2 separate regions of the Homo sapiens genome follow, and region 1 is linked to region 2. The links are contacts of gene promoters, found by promoter capture Hi-C in blood cells and fetal thymus (Javierre and others, 2016). All regions are on one chromosome and are shown on one strand. The core of a region is centred on a gene start or on the middle of the fragment in contact, and the rest is flanking DNA. Distances in the headings are between cores, read along the strand shown.

Region 1 (6,707 bases), core at 965-3,464, 980 kb before region 2:
CACATTACATTTTAAATGAGACATATCCAGTGAAAATTGTAAACTCTAAGGATAAAAAATACTTGGTAAAAATCTCAGGAGAAGAAAGAAACTATGACAAAATGAACACACATTCTTTTGGCCTCACATTTCTCCTTGGCTATATTTAATGCCCAAAGACAATGGGACCACCTCTGCCAGCAGCTTATGAAGTGTGTTAATTGGTTTTTATGGTAATAAGCCAAAGGCCTAGGAATTTCAAGACCTTATAGCCAGTCTTGCTCTGCGCAGGATCTCATCAGGGCAGCGTGTGCAAGAAAAGATAGCTGGAGGATGAATGGTGGTCCCCAGGGCAGGTGTCTCTGAGAGCTGGAGCAGGGTAGCCCCCACTTCTTGTCCCCCAAATCCTTGATAACTGAGTCTACTGAGAAGGGAGCTGAAGCAATGAGAAAATGGAGACCTGATGGTATTAGGATTCAGGGCCTTTGGGAGGTGATGAGGTTGTGAGGGTGGACCCCTTATGAATGGGATTCATGTCCTTATAAAAGTGACTTCAAAGAGCTGCTGTGCCCCTTTCACCATGTGAGGATGCAGTGAGACGGTGGCAGTCTTCAACCTAGAAGAGGCCCTCACAGAACCCAACCATGCTGGCACTCTGACCTTGAACTTCCAGCCTCCGGAACGATGAGAAATAAATTTCTGTTGTTTACAAGCCACCCAGCCTATGGTGGTTTCTTATAGCAGCCTGAATGGACGAAGATATCTTTCTTTTGAACTTTGAGGGACTTAAAAGCCAAGACTATGTAGCCATTTCCCAGTCCAGAAACCTCTATAAATCTGAGGAGTTCTTTAGAAGACCATGACCCAATACTTCCGCATTTCTCATACAGGCAGCACTAAAATAGACAGTGTCAAATGAAAACAAATGTGTATTGAACTAAGGAGAGACTTCATTCAAAAGGATTATTGTGATAAAGGGAAGGGGGCTATTGCAGTAGGGGGAACAATCTGACAGTAATAGCTGCAGGCATCTCAAAGTTCTGTTGGAAAGAAACTTTCTTTTATGGGGAGAACCAGACAAGGCCAAAAAATAATTGGGTGTGGGGGAGTGGGTGGTGAGATCAGAGTTGATCAGTTGGGGAAAGTCTTTCCTTGCAGTCATCTAATTCTGGGGAGGGGCTGTTTGCTGGCTCAGGCTGAAGGAGGTTCAACATTCCGGGTCCTGAGGGAGTGGAGGAGCTGAACTAAAGTTTAATCAAGTCAGTTAACAAGTACTTTGTTCTGACTGATCAGTGGGATAACAGTTCAGGTTATCATTAAGAGGTGCAGAATGAGAATTTGGAGGGTGTATCTGGCCTTGTCTTAGGTAAACAAGGGAGCATCCATGAGTCTTATCTGAGTCATGTGGGGAGGGGATCTTCTTTGTCATAAGCAGTTTCCTGGAACACAAAAGGGTGAGATGATTTCCTAATACTCATTGCTTTCCAGGAGCTTAGGGCTCAGGTAAAGTCCAACGTTGTCAACAACTTAGGTCCTGATGGTGATGATGATGGTGATGGTGATGATGATGATGAGGATGGTGATGATGATGGCAATAATGATGATGATGATGATGGTGATGATGTGATGGTGATGATGATGATGGTGATGAAGATGTGATGGTGATGATGATGATGGTGATGAGGACAATGGTGTTGATGGTGATGATCATAATGATGATGATGACTGATAATGGCGATGATGATGGTGATAATGATGGTGATGATGATGGTGGTGATGATGGTGATGATGGTGATGGTGCTAATGATGGTGATGATGATAATGATGGTGATGGTGTTGATGACAATGATCATAATTATAATGATGTGACATTCTTATAAGTTTTTCGTGTGTGTTATTTGAATTACAAGGTAAATACTACCATCCAACTTTATAGAACTGAAACACAGATGATTAATTAACTTGCTCAAGGTTCTGCCACTGCCTGCTTTGCAGAAAGTTGGGTTTACACCAGGTGACCCTGTTCCAGCACCCACCATCTTGCTACTGTGCTCCACTGTTTCTAAAATGGGTCAAAGAAGAGTATAGCTTAGTATAGCCCCAAGGCCATACTGCCTGCCAAGCCCCAAATGAACCCTGTATTCTAATTCCTATTATAGCTGATCAGAGATAATTCCACAAACATTACCAATGACAGCACAAATTATCCCAGCTTTGAACAATTTGAACTCACTTTTACTAATACATTCCCACCAATGCATGAAGTCCCTGAATTAGTTTCCTAAATGTGCTGTAACAATTAACCATAAACATGGTGGCTTAAAGCAACAGTTTATTCTCTCACAATTCTGGAGGCCAGAAGTCAGAAACCAAGGAATCAGCAGGGCCATGCTCCCTGTAGATGCTTCAGGGGAGAGCCTTCTTGCTTTCTCCAGCCTCTGATGCTCCTGGCATCTTTTGGTTTATGGCTGCACCACTCCAGCCTCTGCCTTCATCTCCATGTGGCCTTCTCTCCTGTGTCTCTGCCTCAAATCTGCTTTCCTCTTATAAGGATTTGGGGCCTACCTTAATGAAAAATGAACACCCATCTTGAGATTTCTTAACTTAATTACATCTGCGAAGACTCTATTTCCAAATACAGTTGCATGCACAGGTTTCAGGAATTGAGGCATGGATGTATCTCTTTGGGGCCACCATTCAAACCACTGTAGTCCCAAATGAAATTCCTGCTGTAGCTCAGCCAGAAGGGTCTCCTTCAGAGTATTGGTGAGGAACCCATCTGCAAAACATTCTCTGGAGTGGGCAGATTACTTCAGCACTTCCACGTGGAAGAGAATAGGAACCTCAGGTCCCAATGGGGTCACGCTTCTCCTTCAGCTCTTCCCAGTGGGGAGAACGGGAACCCAGGCTCCAGTGGTTCCACCTCCTCACACTCCAGAGGGGGAGCAGGATGCCCCAGAGCCCCCTGGGCAGCCTCTCACCTGCAGGGCTGAGATTTGGAAGCAGTCAGCCACCATGTTTACTAAGGAAAGTGGCACTCCACTGCTGCTATGGTGGGCCATGGTGCAGGTGACAGTGGTAGCCAGAGAGCAAAGAAGAAAGAACAGAAAAAAAAATCTTGGATCTTGGTTTCAAACTTGTGAAGACATTCAGTTTCTTCCACTTGCCTGGATTCCAGGACTGTGAACATAACCCAACAGGGAAATGTCTTCCACCAGGAAGTGGGTCAAGTTGCTGTCTGATTTTCTTGAACCTGGTGGGAGCCTAAGGTTTCTCCAGCTCATATGGCTGTGGGAGACAGACTTAGAGTCTTCAGAGCTCAGAGAGAAACCAGCAAAGCTGTCACACCCGCAGCCCTGAAGCCATTGCTAGGCTTTGTCCTTCCATAGGTTGCCTCTCTCTCTAAGGGTCTTGTTAACTTTCATGACATCAGCTGCATCTTACATGTTCCTTTCTTTTTTCTGCTTTACTTTTGCAAACACACCTGTCTTTTGGTCACACCAGACAGGTAGGATTGGACGTGGACTTGGGAAGGCTGGGAAATAAAGGAGGGATCCCTGATCCCTGAAGTCTCAGTGTCCCCTGTCCATGAAAAACACTCTTGCACTGAGCCCAAGGCTGCTGCCTCTGCTGGCTGCAGAGAGAACTGTCCCATCCTCGAATGAATGATTTTTCTCACAAAATACTGACATATACAAGACTGCAAGTCTATGCCTGCAGAAGAACCTTGGATACCTCATGAGACCCACTGCACCCAATGCGAACAGCTCTACGTGCACCTGTGGAACCTCGCTGGTTACTGAGATGCTTGTTTCCATGTGAGCTTAAGGTAGAGTTAAGAAAGAAAGTCCTAACAAAGGAGGGACCCCTTATGTCCTAATCCTCCTCCCAGCCTTCCAGCTTGAGGGAGTCGTACGCACAGGTGCTTTTTTAGAGAACTGTGCTTAGGCCTGGAGTCCTAACAATTCTTCCTGGGACTCTATTTTGTGACCTATTTACAAAAAAACATGCTTACAGAGAAGGAAGGGTCAGGAAGAACAGTGTCCACTGCTTCTGCCGAGGTTTGAAGATAAAACCTTTATAATCCAGTAATTTGGAAATCAGGTTTGATTGGATTCGATTGATTGATCTTTTAAAGTGTGAAGGGACAAAAAAAATCACCACCCCCCCACCCACAGACACAATCACACACACACAATTCCTATGTAACCTTCTTTAGATATCATTTGGAGATATATGCCAGTCAAGCAACAGATGAAACAAATTAAGAGCTCAATAATGATAAAGTGATGGCAGAACAGGATTTGTTCTGAGAATTAGAATTCTCTAAATATAGAATCATTTTTGAAATTCTGAAGGAAAAAAATATTGTACATTATATACATAATTTACGTATGTATTTAAAGAGAGAGTAGCATAAGAGTTTGCTGAGTCATGTAACATAAGTTTAGATGTCAGCCCTCTGGAGATGGTATGGCCTCTTCATGACGCTGCTGGAGATGATATCCCTGCTTCTCTGTCCTGGCTTCACAGTCACTTACTGATCCCTTAGCCTTTACCCTCACAGGGTCCTGGAGTCCAAGATGACTGTGGGAACTGGAGGGCAGCAGGGGAAAGAAGGGAACACAATGATGCCCTGCTAGTGGATGCCCTTCCCTAGGTCCCATTCAACAACTTCTTCTGTCTCCTTGGCCAGAAAGCCACATGACTATCCCTGCTTAAGGGTAGATGGAGCTATTGAGCTGGACACCCTGATGTCTTACATATAAGTGTTTTTGTTTTTCACCAAGGATGAAAGAGAGAATGGTATCTGTGGTCACCTACCCATTTCTGCCATTGAGGGGCAATAATAGATCAGGCAAAAGATTCACAGTCATTCCAATATTAATATCAAAGAAGAATTCATGACAAGACACATCACAAAGCAGAGCTTATGATTTTACAGAGATAAAAGCTAAACTCACAGACACAGAAAACTTTGTGAACAACAGATCATTATGTATAATAGTAATAAAGAGTATTAGATAAGACATGGAGAGACTGGCAATAGCACAATGGTAACAAAATTATTTACACAATTGTTTCCCTTTGTAGCATGTAAGATAAATCATCATAATAAATTATAAATAATGACTCATATTAAGGCAATATAGGATCTAATTGTCATTAATTAGGATAATTTATGCATTCACTCCTCAAATAAATACTAATGGAGTGCCTACTATGTGCCGGCCAATGTTTGTGTGCTGGGGCACAGCAGTGTGAAACCATCCCCTGTCCCTATGTAATGTGCATGCTGGGAAAGGTTGATTGGAGACATACTGAAATATGAATCATGTAGAGAATATCTCTTCTTTTCCAGAGCTGTTGAAGCATTTATAAAATTTGATGAACTCTTAAACCATAAAAACCAGCAATCTCTTATAAAAAGCAGAAATTGTTCAGATTACTTTTGCAAGCTACAATGTCATAAAGCCAGAGAATAATAAGACGATTTTAGAAAGATGGAATATAAATGTTCTCTTAACTATTAGCAAAGAGAAGAAGAAGAAAGAAAGAAAGAAGCCAATATTTCAATTATAGACTATGTTGAACGCTATGTACCCAAGCTTATGGCATTCGACCAGAACAATCCTCAAGGGAAAATGCATAAGCAGGAATTACTTTATTATCTAAAACAGAAAATGACATTATAAATATAGCAATTATATTTGTCAGCTTTGGGTGTATAACAAAGCACCCCAAAACTTACTGGTTTAAAGCAACCACTAGGTTGAGCTCTGCTGGACGGCTGCGTCATTCCTTTGATCTGGGTTGGTGTGGCTGGTTTCTGTTGGTTCTTTCATATGTCTGGTCAGCTGGTGGGCAGGATAGCTGATCGAGAATCGCCTTATCTAGATAGCTGATCTAAAATCACCTTATCTACATATCTAGTGGTGGGCAGGTTGTTGGCTGGGGCACATTAGTTCTTCTTTGTGTGTTCTTTCTCTAGCAGGTCAGCTTTGGTTTATTCTTATGATGGTCTCAGGGTTCCAAGTGCAGCAACAAAGAGCAAGTTCCAGTACAGAAGCGCTTTCAAGTCTCTGTGTCATGTTTCTTATTAACCTGTGGGCCAAGGCAAGTCACATGGGAAAGCCCAGAGTCAGTGTGGGAAGGGACTACCCAAGGGCAAGGATACAGACAGGGCCATTGTTATAGTCATTCTTGCTAACAATCTATTTCTGACTTTTAATGAAAACACATAGAAAACCACAAAAAACAATGTTACAAAAGCAGAAAAAAAATTAAATAATAAAGATACAAGCAGAAACAAGTGGTATAGAAGATAGAAAAGGCGTAGAGTTGGTGAATATATTCGAGAGCTTATTCTTTGTAATAAAAACAAGAAAATCAATAAACATCAGCAAACATGAACCACAAAACAGAATGAAACACAAATCTAGTAAAAGCAAAACTATTGTGACAGAAAGTAGGTCAGTGATGGCCAGAGGCTGGTGTTGAGTGGACGGGGTTGATTGCAATGTATGTGAGGGAAATTTTGGGGTGATGGAACTATCTGATATTTTGGTAGTGGTGGTGATTACATGACTATACAGATTTATCACATTAAATTGTATCTTTAATATTGGAAAAAAATTTTCATTTCCATTTATAGAGGACTAATTTGCTTTAGACCATTCCTTCCACTGATAACAAAGATAACAGCTTGGGGAAATATAAAAGTAATC
Region 2 (6,711 bases), core at 793-3,292:
TGGAATCTGTAACATTTTAAAAGCCACATCCTTTTTAGCAGGAAAAAAGGCTTCAATGAAAGGAATGAAATTGTAAGGGTGGAGACCTGGGCATCAATGGCTGACTCCACAGAATCCCATTGAGGGAGCCCCTCCCTGCCAGGGTCCCAGGCCCACCCTGCACATCCAGAGGCAAGAGGTACGTCCCTCATGGCCACCCCAAAGTTGTCAGGAGCCCCAACTTCTGCAGAATCACCTCCCTGCCAGGAAAGAGAGCGGGGAGAAGCTGCAGTTGAGAAGATACTAAACAGGAAAGTCAGCGTTTTAATTAAACAGGATTCAAAATTGATGGGAGAAAACAAGCATGGACACAATCATATTAACACAAGAATCCCGTCAGAGCCCCTGGCAAGGAAGCTTCAGTGCACAACAACCACTGGGACGGGGGTTAGAGGACTCGCAGTGAGAGGCTGCCTTTCTTTGCTCAGTTTCTCCTAAAGTGTTGTGTGTGTGTGGATGGGAGAGTGTGTGTGTGTGTGTGTGTGTGTGTGTGTGTGAGAGAGAGAGAGAGAGATTCAAGGAAAATATGTGTGTGTGTGGTGCTGTGTGTGCATTGGGGCATGAATGCTTGCATGCATGAGTTGTGGGTGAGTGTACGGCTGGGGACAGTCCACATCCCTTCACCTCCCTGGACCAGGCCTCAAGATGAAGGGATGATGCTTCTTCTCCCTGGTTGCTCAATCTGACTTGCAGGCCCTCTACTGGCTCCTCAGAAAAGGGTCTCCAGCGCCAAAAGAATCTCCTGGGGTGCTCAAGCCCCCAGCCCTATGCAGGATGGAGAATATCTTGTGAGTTCCAGAGGAGGGGTTCTATTAGTCGTGTGCACGAACCTGCAGGAAGGCAGAGCTTGGGGTGGTGCTGTGGCAGCTACCGGCAGGGGCCAGAGCCTCTCCAGGCAGCAGGGCCATCTGGACATCCTGGACTGGGGAGCGTATCTCCTGGGCTGTAGAGGGAGGTGCAGAGGGGACATGACTAGGAGGGTTGGAGATGGGGAAAGTGTCCTTGTGTCCTTACAAGGCTCATTTTCCCCCCATCCTTTGCTTGTTATAGGAGTGAACCTGTCTTGCAGATGATCGTTGACTATGCAGGTAAAATAGATTGCGATCATTGTCATCCTGCTCAGAAAACCCACCTGGATAGGACCAGTCCTGGGACTGGGAGCCCGGAGACGCCACTGAGAGCCGGTCCTGCAGGGACTCCAGGGAGATGAACCAGGAGATGGCTCAGCAAGGACCAGGCAGTGGCAGAGGTGCCCGAGTAGAGTGATCGTGGGGCAGAGGACTGAGGGAAAGTGCGTGCCTGTGCCTGGCAGTGCCGCCCCAGGTGGAGGAGGAGCCCTCAGGGTGGTGGGCTTCCGATGAAGGGTGACTCTGCTGGGGTCTGAGGCTGTGCTCCCAGTGGACTCAGGGACCCCACTGCACAAGCCCGATTTTGGGTAACAGGGCACACCTAGGGAACAGGCCCAGAGCACCCTCTCCTTGGAATAAACTCCGGATCCAAGTCCCAGAACCCACCTTAGGAGGCGTCTGCCGCCCCCGCCCCCTCCCCAGCCTTCCAGGCCCTGGCTGCGGTGGATGGGGGCGCGGAAGGCCCAAGTGCGCGAACTTCACCTGGCCCGGCCGTCCTCCCCGTGGGGGGCCCAGGCTGCGGGCGCGTCAGGCCGTCTCTGTCGCCATCCGGAGGAGCGGCTTGGGCGCCGCGTCCCCTCTGCCAGGCCCGGGTCGGCGGGCGGCTGGAGCCCCCAGCGGTGGCGGGCGCGCGCCTCTCTCGCGGATGCCGGGGCGCGCGTAGCCGGGGCGCGCAGTGACGCCCAGAGCGGGGCCGGCGTCCCCCTGGCGGGCCGGCGCGGGGTCGGCGGGCGCGGGCGCGAGCGCGGGCGGCGCGGGCGCGGCGCGGGGCGCGGTGGGCCGGGGCCCGGGCGCGGCGGCGGCGGCGGCGGAGGATGGCGCGCGCGGGGCCCGCACGTGGAGGCCGGCGCGGGGGCGCGGGCAGGGCCGGCTGCTGAGACGCGCTGCTGCCCCCCGCGCGGGCGCCGCGGCTTCAATGGCGCCATCGCCCAGGACCGGCAGCCGGCAAGATGCGACCGCCCTGCCCAGCATGTCCTCAACTTTCTGGGCGTTCATGATCCTGGCCAGCCTGCTCATCGCCTACTGCAGTGAGTACCGCGCGGCCCCGGCCCCGGCACGGCCCTCTGGGCCCCGGACCCCCTCCTCCGGCCCCGGCAGGCGCCCCGCGGGCCTCCCGGAGTCGGCGCGGAGTTACGAGCGCCGGGCGCATGGTCCCCCGAGTCCCGGCCGGTCCAACGCTGCGCTGGGCGGGCGAGAGGGTCCACCCGGGTTCCGGGCGCTCGAGCACTTCGGGGTCGGACGCCCCGGCCCGAGCCTCCCTTCCCTGACTCCCCGGCAGGGCCCGGGCTCCAGGCCCCGGGTGGCGCGGCCCGTCCCTGCCCGGCGGTCGGAGCCCAGCCAGCGGCTTCCCGGCCGAGATGCGCGCTCAGGAGGCAGCCGCAGGTCGCGGAGGGCGGGCGGCGCTGCCGGGGTGTCTGCGGAGCGCCCTCCCCGTGCCTCAGCCCGGGACAAGGGGGGAGGCGGCGGCCGAGCCCGGAGAGGAGCTCTTCAGGCAGGAGCCCAGCCTGGGCTCGGAGGAGCAGCTGGAGCTTCCGCTTTCCCGGGAAACGGGCTCGTCAGGCGCCTTCTGGAAAGAGAAGCGAAGTGAGGGATGGGATGCCCGGAGGGGGCTCGCCGCGGCCGCGGACGTTTCTCGGGTCGTGTCTGGGGCCCGAGCTGGTGACCGGCGGGACTGGCGCGGGCGCGGGCTGGGGTGGTGCGGGCCAGTGGGCGCCCGGGCGTGAGCTGAGGGCTGGGGTAGGGGGTGACCGCCGCGGGCTCCCTGTTGCCTGGAGTGAAGGGTGGGGGGTGGCCTGTGCCCCTGCCGAGGCTCCAGGCGGGTGGAATGAGGGGTGGTTGGAGTCCCGGGTGCAGACTCCAGCCTCGGCGCTGGGGAGGGTGCTCAGCATCCCGGGGCACGTTCGCGGCTGGTGGGGTAAGTGGGGGCCGCTCAGCGTCCCGGGCACAGGCTCTGGCCCCAGATGGCGCGGGCTGGTCGGCTTCAGCTCCGGGAGCTCCGGGCTTCTTGTCTTCAGCGGGAGAATAGGACGGGTGCTGGGGAGCACCTGTCATGGAGAATTGCCATGGGCGCGGGAGGTGATGGAAAAATATGGATTCTTTACAAAAAAAAAAAAAAAAGGCCAGCACCGAACCTCCCTCCACAGACACCACCTCCTCCAGAGCCCCGGGCCTCCAAGCTCCCAGTCCGATCTGATCCTTCCGCTGTCGCCAAAATGAGAGCACAGTGGCCCAGGGAGACCCGGGCAGCCGCGGGATCGGCCTCCGGAGTCCTGGGACAGCCCAGCTCGCCAGGATCGCAAGGGAAACCCGGGGACCAGAGCAGGAATTTTCCTACTTGCTTCAGCGCGGTTATGCATTTCCCTAGAAATGCTGTGGCACCGAGCGGGGAGGGGTCGCCAAGCCTGGGGGTCTCAACCCGAGCTGCCCAGGCAGACGAGGCCACCGTGGGTGCGCCGGCGCCCCTGGGAACTCACTGGCTGGCCGCCTGCAGGGAGCAGGGTCTGGGGGTTTGAGCGACATTTGTGCCTGCCCCCGAGTTTTCCGCGGCCGTCACGGGGCCTGCAGGGGTATGTGGGGGGATTCCCTAGAAGATCCCCAAGCAAGGCTTCCTAGGAGATGTAGAAAGGGTTAATGGCAGGTAAACTCTGTGCGGAAGAGGAGGCATTTGAATGCACTTCCTGGTGGCATCACCCCAGAGGAGAGGAGAGAGAGGAGAGGAGAGGGAGAGGGGGCTCATTCAGCAGTGTTTGGGGAGGGGCTGTAGTGCCCTGAGCCCACTACAGGCGGCCCATCCCTGGCTGGCTGCTAGAACCCAGGACAACACCTCACCCCCAACCCCCAGCAGCTCAGCAGGTGTGGAAAAGAACAACTGCTAATTGTTGCGAAGTACTTGACACCAGGGCCCTGTGGCTTCAACACCGCACTTCCCGAGCCCGCGAGGAGCGCGGTACACACTGTCTCAAGACACGCAGCGTCAGCCCTCTCCCACCCTGCGCTGCATCCTGAATCCTAAGGTGTCAGCACGTTGTTCATCCGGACGGGCTCACACCTTCCTGAGACTGTCGCCTGCTCTGCCGAGTGGAGTCCTGGTGTCCCAGCACAGACATCTGAGCCTGCTGCTTAGACACGCTGAGGATGGGAGATCTGGTTTCCACACTCATCCCTCCTCCTTAGGAGGCCTCCCCAGCGTTCTGGAAACAGCCTTTCGCCAGGACAAGGACAATTGGTAAGAAGGTCTTACCAGAGTAGCAGAAATAATTAATAACAGAAGCTTGGGTGAAGCACATTTTTTATGGCTGTTTCCATCTCCATGTAATGGAATAATTGACAATAAGAGACACACCCCATTACACCAGAAATGTACTTGGAGAAATTAAAACATTTCACTAAAATACAAAATAGACATAATAATAATTTATAGCTTGGAACTGCAGTCCTAGAGAAAAAAAATCCCCCCCCCTTTTTTCAGAACCGATAAAGCAAATTAAATGCAAATTAAACAGTTCCTAGGATTTTCATTCTTTCTTCCAATAGATCTGGGATGAAGAAGAATAGTTCGTATTCTCGTTTGTAAATTGTTTTTGTCATCAGTAAGGATTTTTATTACTCAAAATGTCTTTGTGTTATGAAGCAGATATATTTGTATCATATTAATTAGGGAAACTGATAAGTATCATACAGCGTTCAATTATCCTGCCTATTAAATCTGTGTGTTTCTCTGCAACACATAAGGTGCTGGCTTCCTAGTGCAGCTAGGAGGAAACTGGATTCTTTCTTGGCCTGGTTTTCTGTTGGGGGGATTCTACTGTTCTTGGCCCAGTGAGAGTCCGGCCTTCTTTCTTTCTCGTGTGCTGGGATCCATATAGAAGGAGATGGGCTCCACCGTCTGGCCGGAGAAAGACCTGCAGTCCACCAATTAGGCTAGTTGCTATAGTGACACAGCCTTGTCATTTTCTCCTCCTGGGGAAGAAGTGCCAGGAGACGCAAACAGGGGAAAGGGGCCCTGGATGGCTCACTTTAAAATGCATGCTCGGTGGTCTGCGACCATCACGGTGACAGCAGGCTTGGTTTCCTCCGCGGCCGGTGCTGCCCATGAGGGTTGTTGGATGGTTGGTAATAAGTTGACTTGCATGATGATGAGCTTTGATGGGGAAGTTGAAGCTCTTCTCCATTCTGGTCTGAGGAAACCTCTCTGGGTGTGGCTTAAAAAGAGTTGATATAGGTTGTTTTCCCCTTAGCGTATTTGGAGTAGAGAAGTCTGTCTGCCTAGATGTGGTTCTTGCCTAGATGTGGAATGGGACCTCTTGACCCAGCTAGAGCTGGTTGAGGGTGTTCTGTGCCCGCCGCTGAAGATGTGATCTTTCCACCCTGGCATCTAGGATAGAACAGCAGCAAGGGAGAGAAGCAAATGAGGACCTGGGGCAACTCCCTATGACACCTAAGCACTGACTCGGTCCTTGTGTGCAGCGTTGAAATCAAAGGTGAAGGACACTCTGCACTAGCCTAGATTCCATGTGCCCTATTCAGCACGAGCAGGTGGATGGTGGGGACCCAGACTATATTTCAGCGTACCAGGGAGAGTGAGGAAGACAGACAGGTTCACTATGTGCTGGACATGGAAATTTCCAAATAAATCCCGTCAATATTGAGCTGTACCTTCCAGTTAAATCTCATGTCCTCATCTATAACTATGAGAAGAAATTACAAACAACTTTGGAATTGTTTTGAATCCATTAGAATCCTAACTGAGCGTAGGCACTGTAGTGTTGCATTTCCTTTATAAATACAATTTATTGCATATTTAGGAGCGATTAGAATATGTTACTTTCCTGCTGTTCAAATTTTGTTCTGGAGTTCTCGAAGAGGTAAAATGGAAAACAGTGGAGGCTTAATGAAGTGGTGCCGTTCAGAAGTTTATTTCTCATCTTTTTTTGAAAAAATTCTCACTGTGTTTTTATTTGATGAATTTGGGGCACAAGAAGATGGGATGTTTGTTTTTTTTCAGCTCCATAAATATAAATTATCTGTCTCTGGGATTTCTTTTAGCCGACATCCATGCCCTAGGCTCAGTGAGGAAGAGGCAGGTTTGTCCCCTCACAGGATTTTCCCACGCAGGGACCCCTGGGGGAAGGGACTTCCGAAGGGACCCCTGGGGGAAGGGACTTCCCAGCGGCTCTAGACAGTGCCCTGGAGAGCCGCATTTACTCCTGGTGATCCTGGCGGTGCCCCACTGTCCCCTCCCACCTTCCACCCCTGCTCTTTCACTGAGATAGGGCCAGAAGGGGGGTCTCCACTCTTCCACTGTCCACACAGGTGTCCCTGCTGGACCTCCCTGAGGCCAGAGGACACTTGAACCCAAGAAGGAGGCTCCACCTGATGGGTCTCTTCCATACCAGGCTCCCCAGCTAAGTTCTGCCCCAGAGTTCTGAGCTCAGGATCTGCCACTCGACATGCTCGGAATGAAATATGTAGATCAACTTTTGTGGCATGAAGCATTTTCAGGTGACTTTTATGGGCGTAATTATGGGAAAATGTTATGATAATG

Evidence for each region. Contacts are between HindIII fragments. The CHiCAGO score rates a contact against its expected background, and 5 or more counts as called.
Region 1: a fragment that was not itself captured here is called in contact with the fragment with the promoter of TAFA5 in region 2 in 1 of 17 cell types (naive B cells); the score reaches 6.3 in naive B cells.

Annotation. Positions count from the first base shown.
Region 1 is chr22:47,511,161-47,517,867 of GRCh38, forward strand. No RefSeq gene overlaps it. Among named protein-coding and RNA genes, the nearest start is that of LINC01644, 27 kb to the left of the region's middle. The HindIII fragment of the contact is 6,744 bases long and covers 1-5,586 here.
Region 2 is chr22:48,487,511-48,494,221 of GRCh38, forward strand. It overlaps TAFA5 (TAFA chemokine like family member 5), which reads left to right and starts at 2,043. Exons shown (of 4, transcript NM_001082967.3): 1 at 2,043-2,194. The coding sequence starts at 2,083. RefSeq lists an enhancer at 4,121-4,626. The HindIII fragment of the contact is 4,041 bases long and covers 395-4,435 here.